Regions from separate parts of the Homo sapiens genome. Here regions 2, 3, 4, 5, 6 and 7 are each linked to region 1. Evidence: promoter capture Hi-C in 16 types of primary human blood cells and fetal thymus (Javierre and others, 2016). All regions are on one chromosome and are shown on one strand. Each heading gives the region's core, a stretch centred on a gene start or on the middle of the fragment in contact. The rest is flanking DNA. Distances are from core to core; before and after follow the strand shown. Region 1 holds the start of TTC29-AS1 (TTC29 antisense RNA 1). Region 2 has its middle 40 kb from the start of ZNF827. Region 3 has its middle 31 kb from the start of LINC01095. Region 4 overlaps LOC105377469 (a long non-coding RNA gene). Region 5 has its middle 12 kb from the start of LINC01095. Region 6 has its middle 25 kb from the start of LSM6. Region 7 has its middle 2.3 kb from the start of LSM6.

What was found. Contacts are between HindIII fragments. The CHiCAGO score rates a contact against its expected background, and 5 or more counts as called.
Region 2: a contact is called between a fragment that was not itself captured here and the fragment with the promoter of TTC29-AS1 in region 1, in 1 of 17 cell types (endothelial precursors). The highest score is 5.9, in endothelial precursors.
Region 3: a contact is called between a fragment that was not itself captured here and the fragment with the promoter of TTC29-AS1 in region 1, in 1 of 17 cell types (endothelial precursors). The highest score is 5.0, in endothelial precursors.
Region 4: a fragment that was not itself captured here is called in contact with the fragment with the promoter of TTC29-AS1 in region 1 in 2 of 17 cell types (endothelial precursors and megakaryocytes); the score reaches 6.2 in endothelial precursors.
Region 5: a fragment that was not itself captured here is called in contact with the fragment with the promoter of TTC29-AS1 in region 1 in 1 of 17 cell types (endothelial precursors); the score reaches 5.5 in endothelial precursors.
Region 6: a fragment that was not itself captured here is called in contact with the fragment with the promoter of TTC29-AS1 in region 1 in 1 of 17 cell types (endothelial precursors); the score reaches 5.4 in endothelial precursors.
Region 7: a fragment that was not itself captured here is called in contact with the fragment with the promoter of TTC29-AS1 in region 1 in 1 of 17 cell types (endothelial precursors); the score reaches 6.2 in endothelial precursors.

The regions. Positions count from the first base shown.
Region 1 is chr4:146,932,398-146,935,447 of GRCh38, reverse strand. It overlaps TTC29-AS1 (TTC29 antisense RNA 1), which reads right to left and starts at 1,444. Exons shown (of 7, transcript NR_188447.1): 1 at 1,111-1,444. All of the region lies in intron 4 of TTC29 (tetratricopeptide repeat domain 29), which reads left to right. The HindIII fragment of the contact is 4,123 bases long and covers 1-2,297 here.
Region 2 is chr4:145,977,610-145,980,659 of GRCh38, reverse strand. No RefSeq gene overlaps it. Among named protein-coding and RNA genes, the nearest start is that of ZNF827, 40 kb to the right of the region's middle. The HindIII fragment of the contact is 1,010 bases long and covers 964-1,973 here.
Region 3 is chr4:146,088,892-146,091,941 of GRCh38, reverse strand. No RefSeq gene overlaps it. Among named protein-coding and RNA genes, the nearest start is that of LINC01095, 31 kb to the left of the region's middle. The HindIII fragment of the contact is 4,912 bases long and covers 1-3,050 here.
Region 4 is chr4:146,106,423-146,109,472 of GRCh38, reverse strand. It overlaps LOC105377469 (a long non-coding RNA gene), which reads right to left. Exons shown (of 3, transcript XR_939294.1): 2 at 1,393-1,588. It overlaps LINC01095 (long intergenic non-protein coding RNA 1095), which reads left to right. Exons shown (of 6, transcript NR_038331.1): 6 at 1-18. Among named protein-coding and RNA genes, the nearest start is that of LINC01095, 14 kb to the left of the region's middle. The HindIII fragment of the contact is 1,394 bases long and covers 749-2,142 here.
Region 5 is chr4:146,132,874-146,135,923 of GRCh38, reverse strand. No RefSeq gene overlaps it. Among named protein-coding and RNA genes, the nearest start is that of LINC01095, 12 kb to the right of the region's middle. The HindIII fragment of the contact is 2,232 bases long and covers 509-2,740 here.
Region 6 is chr4:146,149,659-146,152,708 of GRCh38, reverse strand. No RefSeq gene overlaps it. Among named protein-coding and RNA genes, the nearest start is that of LSM6, 25 kb to the left of the region's middle. The HindIII fragment of the contact is 3,839 bases long and covers 1-3,050 here.
Region 7 is chr4:146,171,872-146,174,921 of GRCh38, reverse strand. No RefSeq gene overlaps it. Among named protein-coding and RNA genes, the nearest start is that of LSM6, 2.3 kb to the left of the region's middle. The HindIII fragment of the contact is 1,377 bases long and covers 824-2,200 here.

The DNA.
Region 1 (3,050 bases), core at 195-2,694:
TCAAATCAGGCAAAAACAATGTCTAAGATATATCCTCAAATCCCTCTCTCTACTGCCTTATTCGTGTCTTTAAGATGGTGATCGATATATTTGTGTATACTCATTAATACAATTGATGTACACTGGCTTTGATATCCCATAGTACACATATGCTCTGTCTAGTTTCAAAATAACCTCTCATCATGTACCCCAAAATATGCCAACCTAAACTCACATGCTGTGACTTTCCTCCCAATGCGATGGGTGGAGAGTTCCTACTGTCATCTAAGCATGGTCCCTCTGCTTGTGCTCTGCATCTCATCCCCTTACCTGCTCCCAAGACTTAACCTCCTGCAGTTAAATTTGCTTTTCTCCTACACCATCAATTTCTCCTTTTTCATTGGATCGATCTCACTGGTATTCATTTCTACTCAAACTTTTTTCTTGACATCTTATCCCCTTCCAGGTTCTACCCCATTTTGATCTACCCAAGACAGCAAGAAAAGTGCTGTCTTAATATTTTCACATTTCATTTTTGCCTCAGTTGACTCTAAATAGGTTTCCAGCCCCCATACTTACTGAAATGCCTCTTTAGGGTCACCCATGACCCCTATTTTTATCACATCTAATAGTTATGTTTCTGTTCCCAGCTTCCTAGATGTCTTCACAGCATTTGACCAAGTTGAACGCTCTCATCTTCTTGAACATTTTGTGCTTGTGACTTTCGGGATGCCATATTCTGTGGTTTTTCTCCACACTGGAGCACTTCAGTCTTCTTTGCAGGCTGCTTTCTCTTTCCAAACTCTCAGTGGTGAGGTGCCCAAAGGCTGGGTCCTAGGTGCACTTCAGCCACACTCTCAACCTGGACCCAGTCTTACAGCTTTAAACATTAGCAATAACCCAACGGCTACTCAATTTATAAATCCAGCACTGGCCTCTCCATCAAGCTGAAAGTTTTTAGATCCAATTGCCTCCTTGATGTGTCTACTTGGATATATCACAGACATCCCAAGGTTAATATAACCCAAAACTGGACTCTTGCTTCACCCCTACTCCTCTCTTATCCCCAATATTCGTCCCACAGCCTTTCCTCCATTCAGCAAATAACATCAAGGCAGCCTTGAGTCTTACCTTGCTTACTGCTACCCCCCTCTAATCCATCAGTATGCCCGATCAGCTACAACTCCAAAATGTATCCCGTGTTCATCTCCTGGTCTTCATTGCAGAGCTGCCATCATGTCTGCTAAGATCGCTTAAATGGTCATATAACTGCTCTTCCCACACCCACTCTCACTCCACCACACTCCTGCTAGAGTGGTCTTTTGAAAACATTAGATCATGACATTCCCCTGCTTAAAATCTGCCAATAGCTTCCCATTCTTCACCTGACCTGAAGCTGTGCATGGTCTGGACTTTACTGACCTCTCTGACCTTCTCTCTTTCTCTCCACCACTCTCTACTCCCAATGTGGCCTTATTGCTGACACTTCTTCTTATGCAGGTGTCAACTTGAATGTGACCTCCACAGTGAGCCGTTTCTTGACCTCATAATACAATGTAAATGAGTAAGCAAGCAGGATAAGCTAACATGTAGTTGTCACTGGAATGGCCAAACCCAAGTGATGGGGGTTTATTTTACTTGGGAATGGTAGAATCGTTCAAAGGCAAAAGGCTTCTGGGTTTTGTATCATCTACCTTCACAGAAGAAATTTCAGTATGCTTCGTTACTTTCTAAGTGACTAGATTATTGTTGTGCCTTATAGGTGCATTTAAAAAAATCAAATCCATTGTATTCACATTCCATATTTGATAATGATGATTTGACTTTAAACTTCAAAGTCAAATTTGACTTAGCAGTGAACTTCAAATGGTTCACTGCTACTATCTAACTGATCTTTAACAAGTACAGACAGTCATGTCCGAAGAGTTTCTGTACTTCTGTACTTCGGATTTTTAATTCTGTATAATATTATCAGAATGCATTATTGTTTTCAAAAAGAACTTAAAATATCACTTATTATCATATCATAATTACTTTGAGTAGCTAAGTAATAAAAGAGTCATTTATAGATTCAAATAAACATTTCTAGAGGGCACTTTACAGCTTTAGCTATGTATGTGAGGAAACAAAATCATCTGGGGACAGAGTGTGTTAATCTGCTCAATATTATTTTCTGCTTCAGATATGAAGTTCTATTATGCAGAAGGATATATTTGGTTCAAAATTGTGGGCATCTCTAAGATATTACTTTCTTTCCGAACATCTTATTTTTAGCATCATCAGTGGATGTTTATTGAGCATCACTTTGTCAGCAAGCTTAGTGGCAGTTAGGACTGTTCATTACTATATTCAGTGAGTTTGGGCTGTAAAGAAACAAAGAACAATTTACTTCATATCTTTTTTTTTTTTTTGAGACGGAGTCTCGGTCTGTCACCCAGACTGGAGTGCAGTGGTGCGATCTCAGCTCACTGCAAGCTCTGCTTCCCAGGTTCAAGCCATTCTCCTGCTTCAGCCTCCCAAGTAGCTGGGACTACAGGCGTCCGCCACCACGCCTGGCTAATTTTTTTTGTATTTTTAGTAGAGACGGGGTTTCACCATGTTGGCCAGGATGGTCTCTATCTCCTGACCTTGTGATCCACCCACTTCAGCCTCCCAAAGTGCTTGGACTACAGGCGTGAACCACCGCGCCTGGCCTACTTTCATATCTTTTAAAGCCTTTTTCTCCTGCCTCATTTTGAATTGTATTATACTTACTCAAAGTAAATTAGTGTTTTGCCAGTCCACATTTTGTTTTTTGCAGATTAGGTTTTTATCTTGAATCTCAAAATTTTTGTCCAAAGATGCTTTTATGAACTACAAATATACTTTTTATATGCAAATCTACCTTCTGGATTTGCACAATGCCCTGGCACTCAAACATATGGAGCAAGATGAAGCCATTTATTTAAGATACAATATTTCATAATTCTTTATTGGAAGTTAGATCCTTTCAAGTGTGCTCTTCCTCTGCTTCATTCATTTTTGTTTACTTTTGAAAATGTTTGTGAAATCATTTTGGTTTCTCTTAAAAA
Region 2 (3,050 bases), core at 219-2,718, 950 kb after region 1:
CAGAATCTGAATTAGAAATCTAGTGCCAATCCCTTATTCCAAAAGCCACACCCTCTCATGCCCCTTTCTCTATCCCCCCACCTTCCCCTCTGTCATTGCACTGAGAATTCGAGGAGCATGCTTTAATCTAAGGGATCCCAGAAGGGAACACACAGAGAGGACTGTCAGAAGCACGGAGAACACCCCACAGAAGATCATTCTTAAGGAGAACCACATGTGTCCGGCATCTGTTTGCCATCTCTGTTGTACAGGATTTTCTAAGTTCTAATTTCTAATGGGAGAAAATGGGCCTGTGACTGCACTCAGGGAAGTCACCTGGTAAGTATTTTCATTGTGTCTCCACCTGTGTTCATCTGCTTGTTGTGCTTCCTAATTTCCAAAATCCTCTAAAAATGTGTAATGAGATAATATAATTAATATGCCCCCAAAGAGCCAAAACCTCATCAAAATAACAAAAAAAAAACTTTAAAAAGTAGCCCAGAACTCATCAAAATAAACATTTATGCAGTATTGGTAGAATTGTGCAAATCCTTTTGCTCATTTCTATTTGAGCCAAAGTCTGATGTTTACTTATGTAACAAAAAGGCTTATTAAATTGTACTAGACATATGTTTGCTGCTCTACTGGATTGAGATAATCTCACACACACACACACAAACACACACACTATTCAATCGCTTAAATTAAAAAATATGTTTATTATATATATAATATGTATATGATTATGTCAATCCATTAGGGCAGCAAACATATCGGTCTATCTATCATCTATCTATCTCTCTCTCTATCTATGATATACATTATGTATATCAATACTATCTATTTATGTATCTGTCTATTGATAATGCTCCTTCATTTGCTTGCTCACTGTACAAAGGCCTGCAGACCTAGAACAGAAATGGAATCACCCATACCAAAGTGAAGGAGAAGCTCACATTCTGCTTCACAACCCACCTAAAAGCTTAATCAGGCAAAATATTAATACATAGCTCAGGCCAATCATCTAGGATCACCACCTTTGCAAAGAAGATAAAAGAAACTTTAAAAGCACTTTCCCCTGCTGGAACTTTCCTCTAAAATATGTATGACCTGGGATCATATGAAAATGGTTGTTCCAGATATCTTTGGAGATCAAAAATATTCCAAGGAAAGAGTGAATCACTTCTGGATCCCTAACTAGTGCCTTCCAGTGTGTGTCTATACTTTTCTTGGTAGAATTTAGGTTGGTGCCACAGTTCCTGCTGAGAGTCAGAGTTGAGCCACATGCAAGCAGAGATCTCGGGACACTGTGATAAGTGCTATTTTGGGATTATGAATGGAGCCTTCACAAGGGGGAAGTCATGAAAGGCTTCGGGGGAGATGAGTATTGAAAACTCCAACTCAAATCCTTCCAGGAAAAGGGAACGTGTGAAGTTGCCAGATGTTGGGGGCTTCCTGGTGAGCAGCAGAGGGAAGACCACACCTAAAGGATGCCCTTTGCACATTTCTGAAACCTCTGTGTTGGTCATACAAAATATTCTGGAGGCTAGATTCAGTTTGTTGGCCTTCCAATTTGCATCTCCTGCTTTTAAGGTAACATAGGTGTTTTACACAGAAGGGACAACATAGGTGAAAACACAAAGTTAAGGGAGGGCAGGTATGTCTGAGGAAGGTTGAAAAGTTTGCATAGCTGATTGTTTTACAGGACAGACAGAAGATAAGATGACTACAGTTTGGTTGGGATTAAGGAAGGCTTTGAAGCTACTAATGCCAGACTTTATCCTGAATGCCATGGAGAGCCAAACGATATCTCTAAGCAAGATAATAATGTGAAAAGATTCACTTTTAGTAAGTTCATTGCTAGCACACAGGCTGGATGGAGAAAGGCCGGTTAGTGACATCAGGGACAAAGACAGAGGCCACCGCAGTGGTAGTGGGAGTGATGAAGACGTGTTAACACTGAGAGGTATTTCTGAGGCAGAGTAGATAAAGCTTAGATGTGGGAGTAATAGAGAAAGAGACATTAAGAATGATCCCTTGGTTTTCTTGATTTTCATGGTTATCTTTGGTAAGTGATTAGATATAAGTAACATTTATCAAAATTGAGAGTCAGAAAAAGAGCAATTTGGAAGGGTGGCCATTTCTGTTTGAGATATACTAAATTTTAGATACCTGGGGTTTAACCAGGTGGCAACATTTTTTCTTTCTTTTCCTTTAAAGAAAAAACTCTGAAACATCCTCAAACATTTAGAAAGGCTGTAAGTGAGATACAAGGTGGGAAAGAAAACTTTTTGCCCCCTGACCCCTACTTACTATGTCTAAATAAGTTACTGATCTGATGCCCAATCACCACTCCCTAATTCTTTTTTTTTCTTCTTTTTTTTTTTTTTTTTTTTTTTTTTTGAGACAGTGTCTCGCTCTGTCGCCCAGGCTGGAGTGCAGTGGCACGATCAGCTCACTGCAACCTCCACCTCCCGGATTCAAGCAATTCTCCTGCCTCAGCCTTCTGAGTAGCTGGGACTACAGGTGAGTGCCACCACACCCAGCTAGTTTTTTGCATTTTTAGTAGAGACTGGGTTTCACCATGTTAGACAGGATGGTCTCGATCTCCTGACCTCATGATCCACCCACCTTGGCCTCCCAAAGTGCTGGGATTATAGGTGTAGGCCACCCTACCCAGCCCCTAATTCTTTAGTATTTATTTCCTACAAGTGGTAATATTCTCCCACATAATCAGAGCATAGCCATAACATCAGGAAATTAACTAGATACATTGCTACCAACAAATTCCCAAACCTCAGTCAAGTTTTGCCAAATGTCTCACTGATCTTTTGTAGCAAAAATATTCCCATTCAGAATCATGGGCTGAGTTCAGGTATTAAGTCTCCTTAGCCTCCTTCAGGCTGGAATAGTTCCTTAGTCTTTCCTTCACTCTTTTGAAAATTACTGGGCAGTTATTCTGTTATATGTCCCTCATTTTGGGTTTGTCTGATGTTTCCCCATTAATGGATTTGGGTTATGCCTCTTTGGCAGGAAAATCAAAGAAGTGATGCTGCGTTCTTCTTATTGCG
Region 3 (3,050 bases), core at 367-2,866, 840 kb after region 1:
CATGTTATTGAGAGGTATCCCACTGAAAAATCCTATGTATTATCTATACTATGGACTTTGATTCTCCAAAATCCATCACTTACTTGTGTAGTTAAATGAGAATGGGCTTCACTCATAAAGTTAGATTGTGGGAAATTTCAGAGACTAGGAACTCTTCTGTGCAACTACGGCCTTTTCTGTTCTTTACTTTGATACCTCCTTTCAGGGCCATTGCATGCATACATAGTTGTCCATGTAAATCGTGCTTTCTGGAGTTGTGCAGTGCACAACCTGCATAGCAGTCCTTGGTTATTTAGACTCTTTTCTGCCTGCTCTCTACATATCTTTCTCCTCTCCTCCTTAGTTATAAGAAGCTCTGAGCTTCAGTCTAGAGACAGCATAAAATTGAAAGCAACCAATTTGATCAGCTTGATTTTCAGTTAGCATTTTGTCCCCAAAGTAGCGGAGACTTTTTTATTTTTTATTTTTATTTTATCATTATTATTTTATTTATTTATTTATTTACTTTTTGAGACAGAGTTTCTCTCTTGTTGCCCAGGCTGGAGTGCAATGGAGCAATTTTGACTCACCGCAACCTCTGCCTCCCTAGAGGCAGATTCCCCTGCCTCAGCCTCCTGAGTAGCTGGGATTACAGGCATGCGCTACCATACCTGGCTAATTTTATATTTTTAGTAGAGACGGGGTTTCTCCAATGTTGGTCAGGCTGGTCTTGAGCTCCCGACCTCAGGTGATCCGCCTTCCTTGGCCTCCCAAAGTGCTGGGATTACCAGTGTGAACCATCAGGCTCAGCCTTTTATTTTTATTTTTTACCTTTATTGCTGCTAATGTTGTGACTTTTGAACCTTTCTTTAACAAATTCTCTAGCATGAAAAAAAGAACAAAAAGGGGTAGATACTTGAATTGATGATCTTTTCTGCTAATAGTTCAAGTGGCAGTTTAAAAAAATGAGAACAATTGATTCAGATGAAGTTTCTGGATTTTCCTGAGCTTTCTGATGTCTCCACAGCAAGGATAATTTAAAACTGACCACACAAAACTGTCCTCATTATATTGTTATGAAAGACTACATAAAAATAAATACAGCCAGGTGCAGTAGTACATACCTGTAATAAGCTACTCAGGAAGCTGAAGCAGCATTGACTGAGTTCAGGAGTTTGAGATCAGCCTGGGCAACATAGCAAGACTCCAGCTCAAAAAAAGAAAGAAAGAAAAAGAAAAAGAACACATACACCATGAGAATTCAATCAGCAAGTACTGTCTCAACACAAAAACTTTAACTGATTTCTAGTTTTGCTACAATATAGTTCTTTTAAGCCTGTAAGTGAAAAGATGCTTCACACTTACATGACATTAAAGAGACCATTTTCCCAACCTCCAAAAGTTTAGCCTCTGCTCTAAAGCACTTGTGAAGTACTGCTTATGTGTTTGTGCATGCACACACACATTTAAATACCTGAGACAAGGTAGGGGTTAAAAAAAAAAGAAAGAAAGGTCACAATAAGGGAAACAGGAAAATTATTCTGTCTCATTACAACCACTCAGAGCTTTCTTTTAGTTTAGACAAAGACATGGAGTTTAAATCAATGTTACTAAACAGTACTTGATGTAAGAAAGGGAACTAGCATTGTTTTGTATGCTGGGTGCCACATGCTTTACATGAGCGCTGTTGAATTTCACAATATTCCCAAGAGGTAGGTATAGATGAAAATACATAAATAGGAGCAACTTAAGGAGGTTAGGTAACTTGCCCAAGGACCTATATCTAGTGAATAATGGGAACTCAGTTGGGACCTAGATCTCTCTAACTCTCAGGGACATTTTGCCTTTTAAACATTTGTTTGCTTATTTGGTGTTCATTATGAAAACTGCAAACACAAGGAACAGAAATTATATATCAAATTACCATGTACCCACTATCCCTTTAGTAGATGTTATTACTTTGCCATATTTACCTCAGATCCTTTTAACTTGAGAATAAAATATTACAGACAAAATTAAAGTCACCTATCCTGTTACTGCCCTTCCTCCTTCTCTAAATCAGCCACTAGCCTGAATTGAGGTTCATCCTTTCCATCCATATTGTCATATTTTTAACATATGTTTCATTCATATGAGTATATCCATAAGAAACTAAGACCTACTGCTTAGTTACTTTCTCACTTTAATGGTATCATGTTCTGTGTATACTTTCTGTAGTTTGATTTTCATACTCAAATTTTATTTCTAAGATTTATTCATGCTGACAGAGCCACAATATGTGGTTCTTGTTTGCTCTTTTAACTACTGTGTATTACTTTATTGTTTGATGATTTTACAATTTCTTTCTCCATTTCCTAATGGTGGTTATCTAAATTTTTTTCATGTTGCTATTATAAATAATGCAACAGTGAATATTCTTTCTACACATCTCTTTGTGTACGTGCACAAGAATTTCTCTAGGAAATGTTTCTAGAACTTCTGGGTCTTAGTGTATGTGGATTGCTGTGGACCAAATTATGTGTTCCCCTTCATGTCATATATTGAATCCTTAACCCCCAACATGACTGTATTTGGAGATAGAACCTGTAAGGAGGTAATTAAGATAAAATGATTTGGTCATAACAGTGGAACCCTACCAAAGACTAGTGTCTTTATAAGAGAAGACATCAGATACCATGCATGTTCTCTCTCTCTGAGTACACTCAGAAAAAAGGCCATATAAGGACAAAATGGCCACTTCCAAGCCAGAAAGAAGGCCCTCACCAGAAACCAAACCCCACTGGAACCTTGATCTTCAACTTCCAACCTCTAGAAATTAACTATTTAACTATGAAAAAAATATTTTCTGTTGTTTGAGACACCCAGCCTATGGTATTCTGCTATGGCGGCTGGAGCAGGCTAAAATATGCATCTTCACACTTTTTTTAATTGCCAACTTGTGTCTCCAAATGAATTGATTCCCACTCCACCAGCAATGAAGATGGTTCTTGTGATCTCCAGTCCTCACCAGTGCTTGGCATCCCATGACCTTGATGCTCTGCCAGGGCAAAGGCTTCAATTCCTTGAATTAC
Region 4 (3,050 bases), core at 196-2,695, 830 kb after region 1:
ATGGCTACACTCCCCTAATATGTTCATTTGGTAATTATTTTTTATTTGCAAACTTGTTTTGATAGAACTGTTTCTTTTAAAAAGTTTAATTTGTCTTGAGATACATTTTCCTTTTATATCTTCTTATTAATGGGCTTATTTTCAAAGAGGAAGGTACAGCAAAGGTAAAAGAAAAAACTCATTTTCTCATGTTGTTTTGGGGTAAAAAATAAAGGCTAACAGTGGGTGAGTGATCTTTTTAATATTTTTAGTTAATTTCCCACACATACTTTAAAAAGTTACTATGGTACTGTTTTCTCCTACTATTAAAAATCTGTTTGAAATGAACTACTGGAAAAGTTAGGACATCATAAATCATCTTAAATAGAATAATTTATTTGATGTTTAATCCCTAATTAAGATGAAAATATCAATTGCAGCTGTTCGTTAGGTATGTTCTTAGTTTGTGTTTGGGCCACAGCAGGGGAAGAAAACCCAGAATTTCATAATTTTAAAGAGATTTCTAAATGCTCTGTGTTACACAAAACTTGCAAGTATGGCATTGTGGGAGACAACAGCAGTGTCATAGCTGACATTTGGGTTCTGGATTCAGACTGCCTGGGTTTAAAGCCCTTCAGTCCCCATCTTGATACAATGTTAAAAACATTCAAAGTTTTTAGCACAATGCCTAGCACTTTAGATGCCCAGTGAAATGCTGATATTATTTTTCCTTGTCCATTGAGATCTGTTTTGAAGTATAGGCAAAGCTTGGGACTGAGAATAAAGAATCAGCATCAAAGTCTTATAGTTCATCGTTTTAAAACTGTTTTCTCCAATTTATCCAAAAATAAAATTGAGGGAGTAAGATAGCCCGTGGTTAACATATCAAAGCACCAATAGACAGATTAGAGACTAAGAAGGTACATGAGCACTACAGGCTAAGATGTGGCCAGAACGCATGTCAGGTAAGAAGGGATACCCAGAAATCCTATCTTGGAGGCATCAGGTGAGCATGAGCAAAAGGATATCCCAGGCCAAAGGAACCTTGAATTAAGCAAGCTCTTTACAAGTCCTTCCTTGTGAGGAAGGAACGGCCCTGGGCCAGGCTTCCAAGGACTTCCATTTTAGTCCTGGGTCTGCCTTCTGTCACATTTCAGGCAGGCCATTTAAATTCTCTGAGCCTCAGTAACATTTTTTTTCCTGCCTACCTTAGGGTTATTGAGATACTGTGTGGGAAAGGCCATTGAAACAAAGTTTCAGAGCACTATCTATAAAACACCACATTTTATCACTAATAATCCCATCTTCTAATGTAATTACAGACTTCCCAGGATTTAGCAACCAGGGCCTGGAAGGCAGACAAAGGTAACTGGCCCCATGTGATAAAAACAGGTACAAACTTTCTTTTCTTACCTCACAAGCCTAGCTTAGTGCTGGACACTCAGCAAATGCTAACAAAGTGCCACGCATTGGTTTGAAAGGGTTCACTTCAACCTTGCCTTCTTCAGGAAGCACTTACAGAGAGCACTTTTCAGTGGGTAACAATGTGACGTCAAATGCTCAGTTTAAAACCTCCTTCCAAATAAAAGGAAATTCATCCTAGAAATGGCTAGAATGACAGAATGAAAACAGAGCAGTATCTACCTGGGCTTTAGTGCCAGGAAGTGACAGTCATTGGCTATGTGTTCAATTACATGGCCGAAGTTAATAGGTAATCAAATATTATGCAATAATAGATTAGTTGCCTTTCCTTGTTGCTAATTATCTAAAATATCTCTATATTGCATATTTAAACATAAAAATTTCCCTAAGGTGAATGATACACTATGCCATTTTTAGTGATTAAATGTGGCATTTTCTGCATCTTAATGAAACCATTATTTTTGTTCAGCTGAGTGATTTTATTAATTAAAAGAATGTCAGGAGAGTGGCAGCATGGTCATAGAGTTCTCAGAGAGTCGTAGCATTATAGAGCCATAAAGGACCTGACCAAACCCAGCCAGGGACTCTCAGTTTACCTGTAATTCTCCACCTGGAAGTCAAAAAGCTGGGTTCTGATATCATCAGTACTATGTGACCCCGGGCAAGTCATTCCAACTTTCTTTGACTGAGTTTATTCTTCAGACAAGGGATCTGTAATGCCATGATACTTTAAATTAAGCTTTTCATGTTGACATATGTTTATATATTGTTACACTAATAATGATGTGTCCCAACAAAGTATGGTTTTCTTTCTCTTTCTGACAACAAACACAGGGACTAGCTGTATTTGAATTCTCTGTTATTGGGAAAAAACATGGCTTTTCTTAATAGGCTGTAAATAACCTGAGGGTGCAGTTTGGGGTTCATAATTTTGTGTCCCCCATGGTGCCTTTAACATACTACTAGAAAGAAATAGAATTTCATTGTTGCGTGTTTCAATGTATTTCGGACCAAAGCATCCTGCTCTGAAACATCATTAAGGGAAAAAAATCCTAGCATATTGTGGGCCTCCAATGAAATGAATGTTAATTGTGTTGCCCAATACCAATTTATTAACGTTTATGAGCATACAACTGTGCGTGCACAAACACAGTTCATATATAGTTCTTGAAAAAAGCATTTGGGGTTTTCTACCACATGATGCTTTCAGTCAGTACCTCCTACCATTAATTTGTGTTCAGAGCAGTAGTTCCCAAAGCTACCCCTTCAGCAACATGTATGTTGACATGGATGTTGAAATGGATGATGTAAATACAGCCATTCAGAATAATCTGGAATCCTATTTTATGATTTGGAATGCCCAGAATGTCCAAGACATGACATACTTACAATTTCTCAGAAAAGTCACACCTGAAAAAGGTAAACACTCAACATAGACACTTAGACTTTCCAGGCATCTTAGCTACAAGACCAATGGTGTCAGTATCTTGAGTTCTGTGTTCTATAGGAGCTTTTTTTTTTTTTTTTTGAGATGGAGTTTTGCTCTGTTGCCCAGGCTGGAGTGCAGTGGCAAGATCTCGGCTCACTGCAACCTCTGCCTCTTGGGTTCAAGCGATTCTTCTGCCTCAGCCTCCCGAGTAGCTGGGACT
Region 5 (3,050 bases), core at 375-2,874, 800 kb after region 1:
TTCAAGACTCCCAAATTCCTTTGGCTGTAGTTGGCTTCATTTTTGCAACTTGCTATCTTATTTTTCCAAAATGAAGTTTTTCTTTTTTGTATTTTTTTCTTATTAAAAAAGCAATCATACCTTTGTTTCAGGAGGAAAAATGGGAAAACATAGTTAAATAAAAATGATATAAAACAAACCATGTTAAAAAAAAAACCACTATTGTTAATAACATTATTGCCCTTGTCTGCCTATTCCTGGCTCCATGGTGCTTACCTGAACTTGCCTTACTATTGAAAAAGTTCATTCTACCTTGAGGGTAGATCTTAGAAGGGTAGGTTTTTTTACGACCTTTTTTCGGGGGCAGGGGGTGGGCATCAGAGCAGAGGTTCACAGCTTCTTTTCATTAATAAATTATTTAAACTCATAGGAGGTTAGCTTTCCCTATCCCACTCCTATAACCTTCCTAGTCCTTCTTTAGCCTCTTAACTGATTTGAGGCCTTTATCCATGAGCTAGAGGGGGAAGCTTCTTGGAAAAGGGCAACTCTGGTATTTTTGCAATAGTGCTTCTTACCTCTCTACAACTATCAGAGCCACTTTTTCCAGGTCCTCACCAGTACACAAAGAGTAATTTGCTGTCTGTCTGCAATGACGCTTCTCTGGCTGCCAAGGCAGTGTGTGGCTCTGGGGAAGAAAGACGGCCTATGCTTCTTGTTGTGTCTTTCTGTGCTTTGCAATGCCCCATTTGTATCTTTTGCTTATACAAAAGAAATTTTCATTTTAAAAGAAGCATCCTGAATCCAGAAAATCCTATAATACTAATTTCTTTTCTAAGAGGAGAAAGAATAGAGTGAAAACAATGCATGGTGATTAAAGATTTCCACGGCGACAGCTCCCTGGAGTGAAACACGAGGCCCTACTTTGGCAGCACCATCCACCAGGAAGGCTCTTCGTGGACATGCTGTGTCACTTGCTTCAGTCCCTATCTGAGCCGGGATTGGACTGGCACATTGCCTTGTTGAAATTGGCTCCGCACCTTGTTTAAGTGGGCATCCTGCCATACTAATTGATGGGTATGAGTGCAGACATGCTAGAGAACCAGGATGCACAGCAGATCTGGGTAGGAGAAGAGTTTCAGCCCAGAAATATCAAAACAGTCAATTGTGCTGAGTTTGTGTGCCAGGGCCTAGAAGAAGATGGTATCAATGCTCTGCTGCAGCTCAGAGCTGGATTTATTTTTAAATGCCCCAAATAGCTGAAAAAACAAGGAAGGTATGGGCCTGAGAAGGAGCAGGAAGGGGCAAGGTTATTGACTTTCAAAAGAAATAGCTAGTGTCTGCCAACTGGGGTACAAGAAGGTTTTTCATCCAAGCTGTTCCATGATTACAGTAACTTTCAAGCTGAGTGCTTTGGGCAGATATGGAAATCGGAGGCACCTCCTGATGGGGCTTCCCAGGTAAGTCACAACAGGGACTGCTGAGGGTGGATGCAGACGGCCGCTCCCAACCTGGGGAACATCCTCCCTGCTTGTCTGTGATGCCTCAGCTACCCCATGAGATCAACGAGCTCATCAAGTGCATCCAGCAGCCCAGCCCCTCCCTGAGAAGCACAGCCATCAACCCGTGTCCTTCCGTCAGTTCCATTTTTTGGAACACAATTGTCCCTCCATTGAAAGAACAGCTGGCTAACAATCCAAGTTGGTGCAGAAGAGAGAAATTTTTCAATATTAAAATGAGGAAGATGTCAAAGAGAGTTCTGAATGCATGTTAACACAGACTACCCCGTGTTTCCCTCTATGGCTGGCAGTCACCTTCTTCAAACCACCTAATGATAAACAGCCCAGGAAAAAATGACATTGGACTCCAACACCTAATAACAGAGATAATAATAGGGTCATCAAGAGACAGAACGAGGTAAATGACAACCACACTGATGCTGGTGGAGATGAAATCTGTACCTCAATATGGCCATATGTTACAGCATAACATACAAGGCTGAAATACAAAAAACTTTGGCTGGACTTCAAGAAAGTGCCTGTTTGAAGACTTGAAAAACTCACTCTTTGAATTGTCCCATCATTATTTGAATCAATTGACAACATGGGGGAATATGGACTGGTCTGTTTAGCCTCCCTGAGCTTTTGAATCAGATCCATTTTATTAACAATTGAATTCTGCACAGAGTAGGATTAGAAGCCATTGCTCTGACCCCAATTTTATATAATTTCTCCCTTCCTGATGGTAAGAGTGCTTCATAGTTTTCTAGTATTTAAGTCATGAAGTCAAGATGAAGAACTATATACACAGTGGCCAAAGTAAATGTGATCATGTTTAACTCACGTTTAGTTTCTCCTTACTTACAATTTTTTTGGTGTGTGTGTGTGTGTGTGTGTGTGTGTGTGTGTGTGTGTGTGTGTGTGTTTGTGTGGCATTTAAAAAAAGTCAACCTAAAAGGAATAGAATCAAGGAGGGATAGTGGAAGCCAAACAAAATCCTCTCAGTTTTAGCTAAATTTAAAAGATTGGAAGTAAGTCTATTTTGCTTTTACCATAAGGCCCCGATTATTCACTTGAAACCAATGGAAAGCATTGAATTCAAGAACAAAAGCCACAAGAAAATCTTTGTGTAATACTTGGAGATGGTACTGAAAGAACAGGAGGAAGTACGTTGATTGGATTACACTCAGTGAAAGGTAAGCAAAATCATTTGGGTTTAATGGTTCTACTTCTAATATCTCATAATTTGGGATGCATTCTAAGCTTCTTACATAGAAACGTGTGTCCATAATTCCCAGTTGTGCTCATTAGAATGACTCATGCCTATGGACATTTTCTTATCTTGGATTCGAATCACATAAATTTTGATGAGTCCATCAGCTTTCTAAACTGACTGTCGTTCTCCACACAAACAGCCCTATTCACAAGGAGCTTCGAGGAGTTCCAGGTTGGTGGGAGTCACGCAAAAATTTTTCAAGCATTTTCTCTTCATGGCTAATTAAGATCAGAGGATGGAAGCAGGTCATTTTCCTCCTCAGTTTTCCTCATGTCCTTGGTTAACTTGCCCTGCCTAGT
Region 6 (3,050 bases), core at 219-2,718, 780 kb after region 1:
TGACTTAAAAATGTATTCAAATCTTAATGATGACTACTACTCCTCGTGCCTGCCCTCCCACCCTCCATGCTACTTTAACTCGGTGGCTCTCAAATTTTGATGCACACAAGAAAATCAGGGGAGCTTATGATAACTTCAGAACTTCTGATTTGATGAGTTTGGACAGGCACCCAGACATCTGTAATTTTAATAGATGTCTCAGATGATTCTGATGCACATGATACATATTGACCCTAGTGGCCCAGTAGAACCCTAACAATGCCTGCCTTCCATGTGTCAAGGATGACAGGATGCACCTTTGGAAGGATATATAGTTTCCTTTCTCTTTCTTGGTAAGACTTGGATTGCCTTCTGGATTGCCTTCAATACTCAGATCTGGAATATTGAAGTGGGCCAAGTTAGGACCAAGAGAAAAGAACAAGGCAGATTTCTTAGGTTATCTGTTTCATGGGTTCTAAAGGAAAGAGATGGAGGATTTCTTAACATTTTACTGGAGTGGGAGAAGAGACAAGGACTTGGCTAGAAACTTGGCACAATATTTAAGACTGTGCACATGGCTAGGGCATGTTTTATAGTTGTCTCTTGGGTTTAATAAGAGTGTCGATAGGTAGTAGGAGAGATTTCAGGTTCAGTGGAGGTAAGGGAAGAAATAATATCCTTGGGACATAGGTGGCTAAGTGGCAAGGTCACAATATGCTGTAGTGGCTCTTAAACTTTGGCCCACTTAGGCTGAGCACAAGACTTCATGGCCCCCATATCATACCAGTTCTTATCTTTCAGGGTTTTGTTTTTGTTTGCTTTTCACCAATCGCATATATTTATACATGTAGAGCAAGAATTGCACAATATTGTAGGTCATGGTAGGCAGCCTTATTAGTATAATACTGAATCACCTTCCCTAAAATTTTAGTTTATAAATGGCAAGCAAAAGAAAAGTCTCGCTCTCCAGTTTCCAGTCTGACATGTAAGGAGCTTGGAAGTCATTTCTCCCATCTGTACAAGAAAAAAGCTGAACATACTAAAAATCAACAACTGTTTTTAGATCCATCTGAGAATTGAAGTCACAAGGCAAACCGCTGCCCTAAAAGTTGGAGAGATAGGTGGATTCAGAGAAACATGGTTTACTGGAGGAGAAACCTCCACAGGAACCAGTACCAGGGCCAGACAACCTAAACGGTAACTGATGAATTGCTAGAGGCCCCGTGTGGACAGCTTGAGAGTTAAAAATGCCAGGGGGAGCCCAGTCTTAGGGGGCCTCCACACTTTCAAGAGTTTTACCTCCAGGAGCCTTATTAGGTTCTTACAGTGAAGGTTACAAAAAAGTCATTTGTGCTTCCATCAGCAGGAGGGGACATGTACAGATGCTCCTTAACTTATAATGGGATTATGTCTTGATAAACCCATCATAAGTTGAAAATATCGTAAATGCATTTAATATACCTAACCTACCATACATCATAGCTTAGCCTAGCCTACCGTAAACATGCTCAGAACACTTACATTAGGCTAGAGCTGGGAAAAATTATCTAACATAAAGCCTATTTTTTTAAATGTTGAATATCTCATGTAACTTATTGAATACTGCACTGAAAATGAAAAATAGAATGTTTGTATGGATACTTGAAGTATGGTTTCTACTGAATGTGTATACTTTTTGTACCATTGTAAAGTTGAAAAATTGTAAGTCAAACCATTGTAAGTCTGGGAAGTCTAGAGTCATTTTGAAATATACCAGAGCTCTATTCCTCCTAACAAGACCTACCTTCAAGGAAAACCAGTTTACAAGAGCCTAACCAAAGTAGGGTCTACCAGAACCTAACTTACCTGGGGGGAGAAAAATAACCAACTCTAACCCTCTGTAGCCTTCCTGTCTCATCTAAGAGAAAAAAAACTGAAAAGCATGTGTGAAGGCCATGGTTCAGGGGCACAGGCTCACTGAAATACTGCTACCTAATCATAGGCCCATAGAATGATTCGCCTTTCCCCACATCATATCAACACATCAATAAGGCTCCTATACAATAACAGGAGATTACAACTGAAATAACTGCACCTCCCATACTTTATTTTAGAAGTCTCTAGGCCAAGCATGATGGCTCATGCCTGTAATCCCAGCACTTTGGGAGGCCGAGGCGGGTGCATCACTTGAGGTCAGGAGTTCAAGACCAGCCTGACCAATATGGTGAAACCCCATCTCTACTAAAAATACAAAAGTTAGCCAGGCATGGTGGTGCATACCTGTAATCTTAGCTACTCAGGAGGCTGAGACAGGAGAATTGCTTAAACCTGGGAGGTGGTGGTTTCAGTAAGCCGAGATAGCGCCACTGTACTCTAGCCTGGGTGACAGAGTGAGATTCTGTCTCAGAAAAAAAAAAAAAAAAGAAGCCTCTAAAGAAACCCAAAGATAACAGGAGAGACTAAAACAAGGCCACCAGAAAAAAAATTAGTCTCTGATACCTACAGCTACAGCAAACAGTAAACAAAGTCTAACTCTGGCCACGTAAACATAAAACCTTGCACTAAAAGTTTATTCTCTTCATTCTCTTTCACTCACTACATCACATGCTACTTTCAACAAAAAAAAATTACAAGGCATACTAAAAGACAAAAAACAGTTTGAAGAGATAAAGCAGAATCAGAACCATACTTAGATACAGCAGAGATTGTAAAATCATCAGACCAGGCATTTAAACCAATTATGATTAACATGTTAAGGGCTATAACAGAAAAAGTGGACAACATGCAAGAACAAACAGAAAGATAGTAATGTGAGTAGAGAGATAGAAATTATAAGGAAGAATTAAAACGAAATGCTGCAAATCAAAATCACCATAATGGTAATGAAGAATGCCTTTGGAAGGCTTAGCAATAGGCTGGACACAGCCAAGGAAAGAATCAATAAACTTGAAGCTATGCCAAAAGAAACTTCCAAATCTGAAAGACAAAAAGAAAAAATAATTGAAAAGATGAATACCCCCCAAACTGTGGGACAATTACAAAAGGAATAAATGCCAAACACTGGTCACCATGAAAGGAGAACTAATTCCCTG
Region 7 (3,050 bases), core at 263-2,762, 760 kb after region 1:
GCAAAATTTTTTTCGAAGATAAAGAGTTCCTCCCTTGTAAACTTCTTTTGGTTAAAGGCAGAAGAAATGAACTTTTGATTGATATCAGGGACAGAAAACAACTGGATATGATTTGTTAAAGAATAGAGACTTCCTTATATCCTTCTATAAAAGTTCAGTTTGGATAAAGACCGAACAGTTACTGATTTATTGTGAGGGCTGTATTTGAAGTTCTTGCAATATAAAATACAATGTAAATAAAAATTTTAAGAAAAGTACCATTTAAATCAAATAATTACGTGCAAAGAACAAACATAATAGGATAAAAAGCCCTGTTCCTAAAAACTTTCTTTGCAAACGACATCAAATTGCACATTCCTTACTGATTGTTTAAATTATTAAAAAAAAAAAGAAAATTTTTGATTCAAACTTCTTTCCCTTTCCTACAGAGCCCTAATCGAGCCGTTAACACTAGTGTGGTGGGTAGGGAGCCATGAGGAGTTTTAAGGGCCTAGTTCATCTGCTGAGCAGCTGCAACCTTCTCTAAGGGGAGTAGCTGGGTAAGGGCCCAGTTTGACACACGGGGTGGGCATCCTGAATTAATTCATGAGCTAACAAGCTTATAAAAAGTGTGGCTGTTCCCAAAAGCCCCTCAGCAGCTTATAAATGACTTTTACTAACTCACAAGGCAATTTTCCGTATTTCCCAGGTTTTTGCTTTCAGCATCTTTTATGATGCAAAGAAAACACTGCAAGACTTTTGGTGAATACTAGTCTTCAAAACCCTGAATGTAAACATTAATTTATTAAGGAGCCTTAAAGTCATAAAAATATTTTGGCAAGCTTTAGTTTAACTTATGTAGTTTAGTTTCATTTAGTTGTTAGGACTGATGAACCTACACTGACACATCATTATCATCCAAAGGCCAAAGTTTACATTAGGGTTCACTCTTGGTGTTGCACATTCTATAGGTTTTGACAAATGCATAATGAAATGTACCCACAATTACAGTATCATACAGAATAGTTTCACTGCCCTAAAAATTCTCTGTGCTCCACCTATTTATCCCTTCCTCCCCACTGGCAACCGCTGATCTTTTTTCTGTCTCCAAAGTTTTGCCTTTTTCCACAATATCATATATTTGGAATCATACCGTACACAGTTAGTGGTGCATACACTGCACCACCCCACTGTGTAGCCTGTTCAGACTGGCTTCTTTCACTTAGAAATATGCATTTAAGACCCCTCTGCGCCTTTTCATGGCTTGACAACTCATTTCTTTTAAGTTCTGAATAATATTCCATTATTTGGATGTACCACAGTTTATTTATCCATTTACCTACAGAAGGACATCTTGGTTGCTTCCAAGTTTGGGAAGTTATGAATAAAGCTGCTATGAATATGTGTATGCAGGTTTTTGTATAGAAATAAGTTTTCAGCTTATTTGGGCAAATATCAAGGAGTATGACTGCTAGATCATATAGCAAGGGTATGTTTAGTTTTGTAAGAAACTGCCAAACTGTCTTACAATGTGGCTGTACCATTTTGCATTCCCACTAGGAGTGAATGAGAGTTTCCATTGTTCCACATCCTCATGGGCATTTGGTGCTTCCAGTCCTTTGGATTTTGACTAGTCTAATAGCTGCTTAGTGACTATCTCATAGTTGTTTAAAGTTGTAATTCCCTAGTGACATATGATATGGAGGATCTTTCTATATACTTATTTGCCATATGTATATCTTTGGTTGTTCAGGTCTTTGGCCCAATTTTGAATCAGTTTGTTCTTTCTTTTTGTTGAGTTTTAAGAGTCCTTTGTATATTTTGAATAATAGTTCTTTATCAGATATGTGTTTTACAAATATTTTCTCCCAGTTTATGGCTTGTCTTTTCATTCTCTTGAAGCTATTATGCTTAAAATAGACAAATGCAGATATATAAATGCTAAGAGAACTCTTGCCACTTCATTGTTTGTCCCTTCTACAGTTCTATAGTACATATGCCTTTAAATAACTATGTCCTTCAATGTTTCATATTCATAAAAGATGGTCTCATGTCTAGCTTATTAAACACCCAACAGCCCTGTGAACATGTAGATGAATGTATTGTGATGTTGTTGTGGTTGTTGTTGATGATGATGATGATGATGATAAATACAAACATGTAATTGGATTGACCAACACTCTCCAAAGCAGATTTTAATATGTAACATGGATGTTAAGCTTCCAAGAATACTGGCTGGTCTTGTTGGAGCAATGCATTAACTGGTATGAAGTGCTGGCATGGACCTGAACCTTTCCTGGACCTTCAGACTGTACAATAGGAGCTCATAAGCTGTGATGTGCTAGTTTTGGATACTTGGGGCCACCATTATCTGCCTTTAATCATGGGATATGAAAATTATTTGTTATAGAAAATGAAGAGAGGCCGGGGGCAGTGGCTCACACCTGTAATCCCAGCACTTTAGGAGGCCAAGGTTGGCGGATCACTTGAAGTCAGGAGTTCAAGACCAGCCTGGCCAAGATGTTGAATCCCGTCTCTACTTAAAATTAAAAAATTAGCTGGGTGTAGTGGCACATGCCTGTAATCCCAGCTACCTGGGAGGCTAGGCATGAGAATCTCTTGAACCCGACAGGCTAAGGTTGCAGTGAGATGAGATCATGCCACTGCACTCCAGTCTGGATGATAGAGCGAGACTGTTTCTTAAATGAAGAAAGAAAGAGAGAAAGAAAGAAAGAAGAAGGAAAAAAGAAAGAAAGAAAGAAAGAAAGAAAGAAAGAAGGAAGAAAGAAAGAAAGAAGAAAGAAAGAAAGAAAGAAAGAAAGAAAGAAAGAAAGAAAGAAAGAAAGAAAGAAAGAAAGAAAAAGAAAGAAGGAAAAGAAAGAGGGAGGGAGGGGAAAAAAGAAAATAAGGAAACAGACAGACACTCTCTGGTTGTTGAATACCTTCTAAGAAGTGATACAAGCTCATTGACTGGTGGGCAAATTTCTCAGAAAAAGTAGTATGTCGTTTTGCTTACCCAAGGAAGTGATATATTCTACATCATGGGCGCTTGGTTTCAGATGTAACATGTG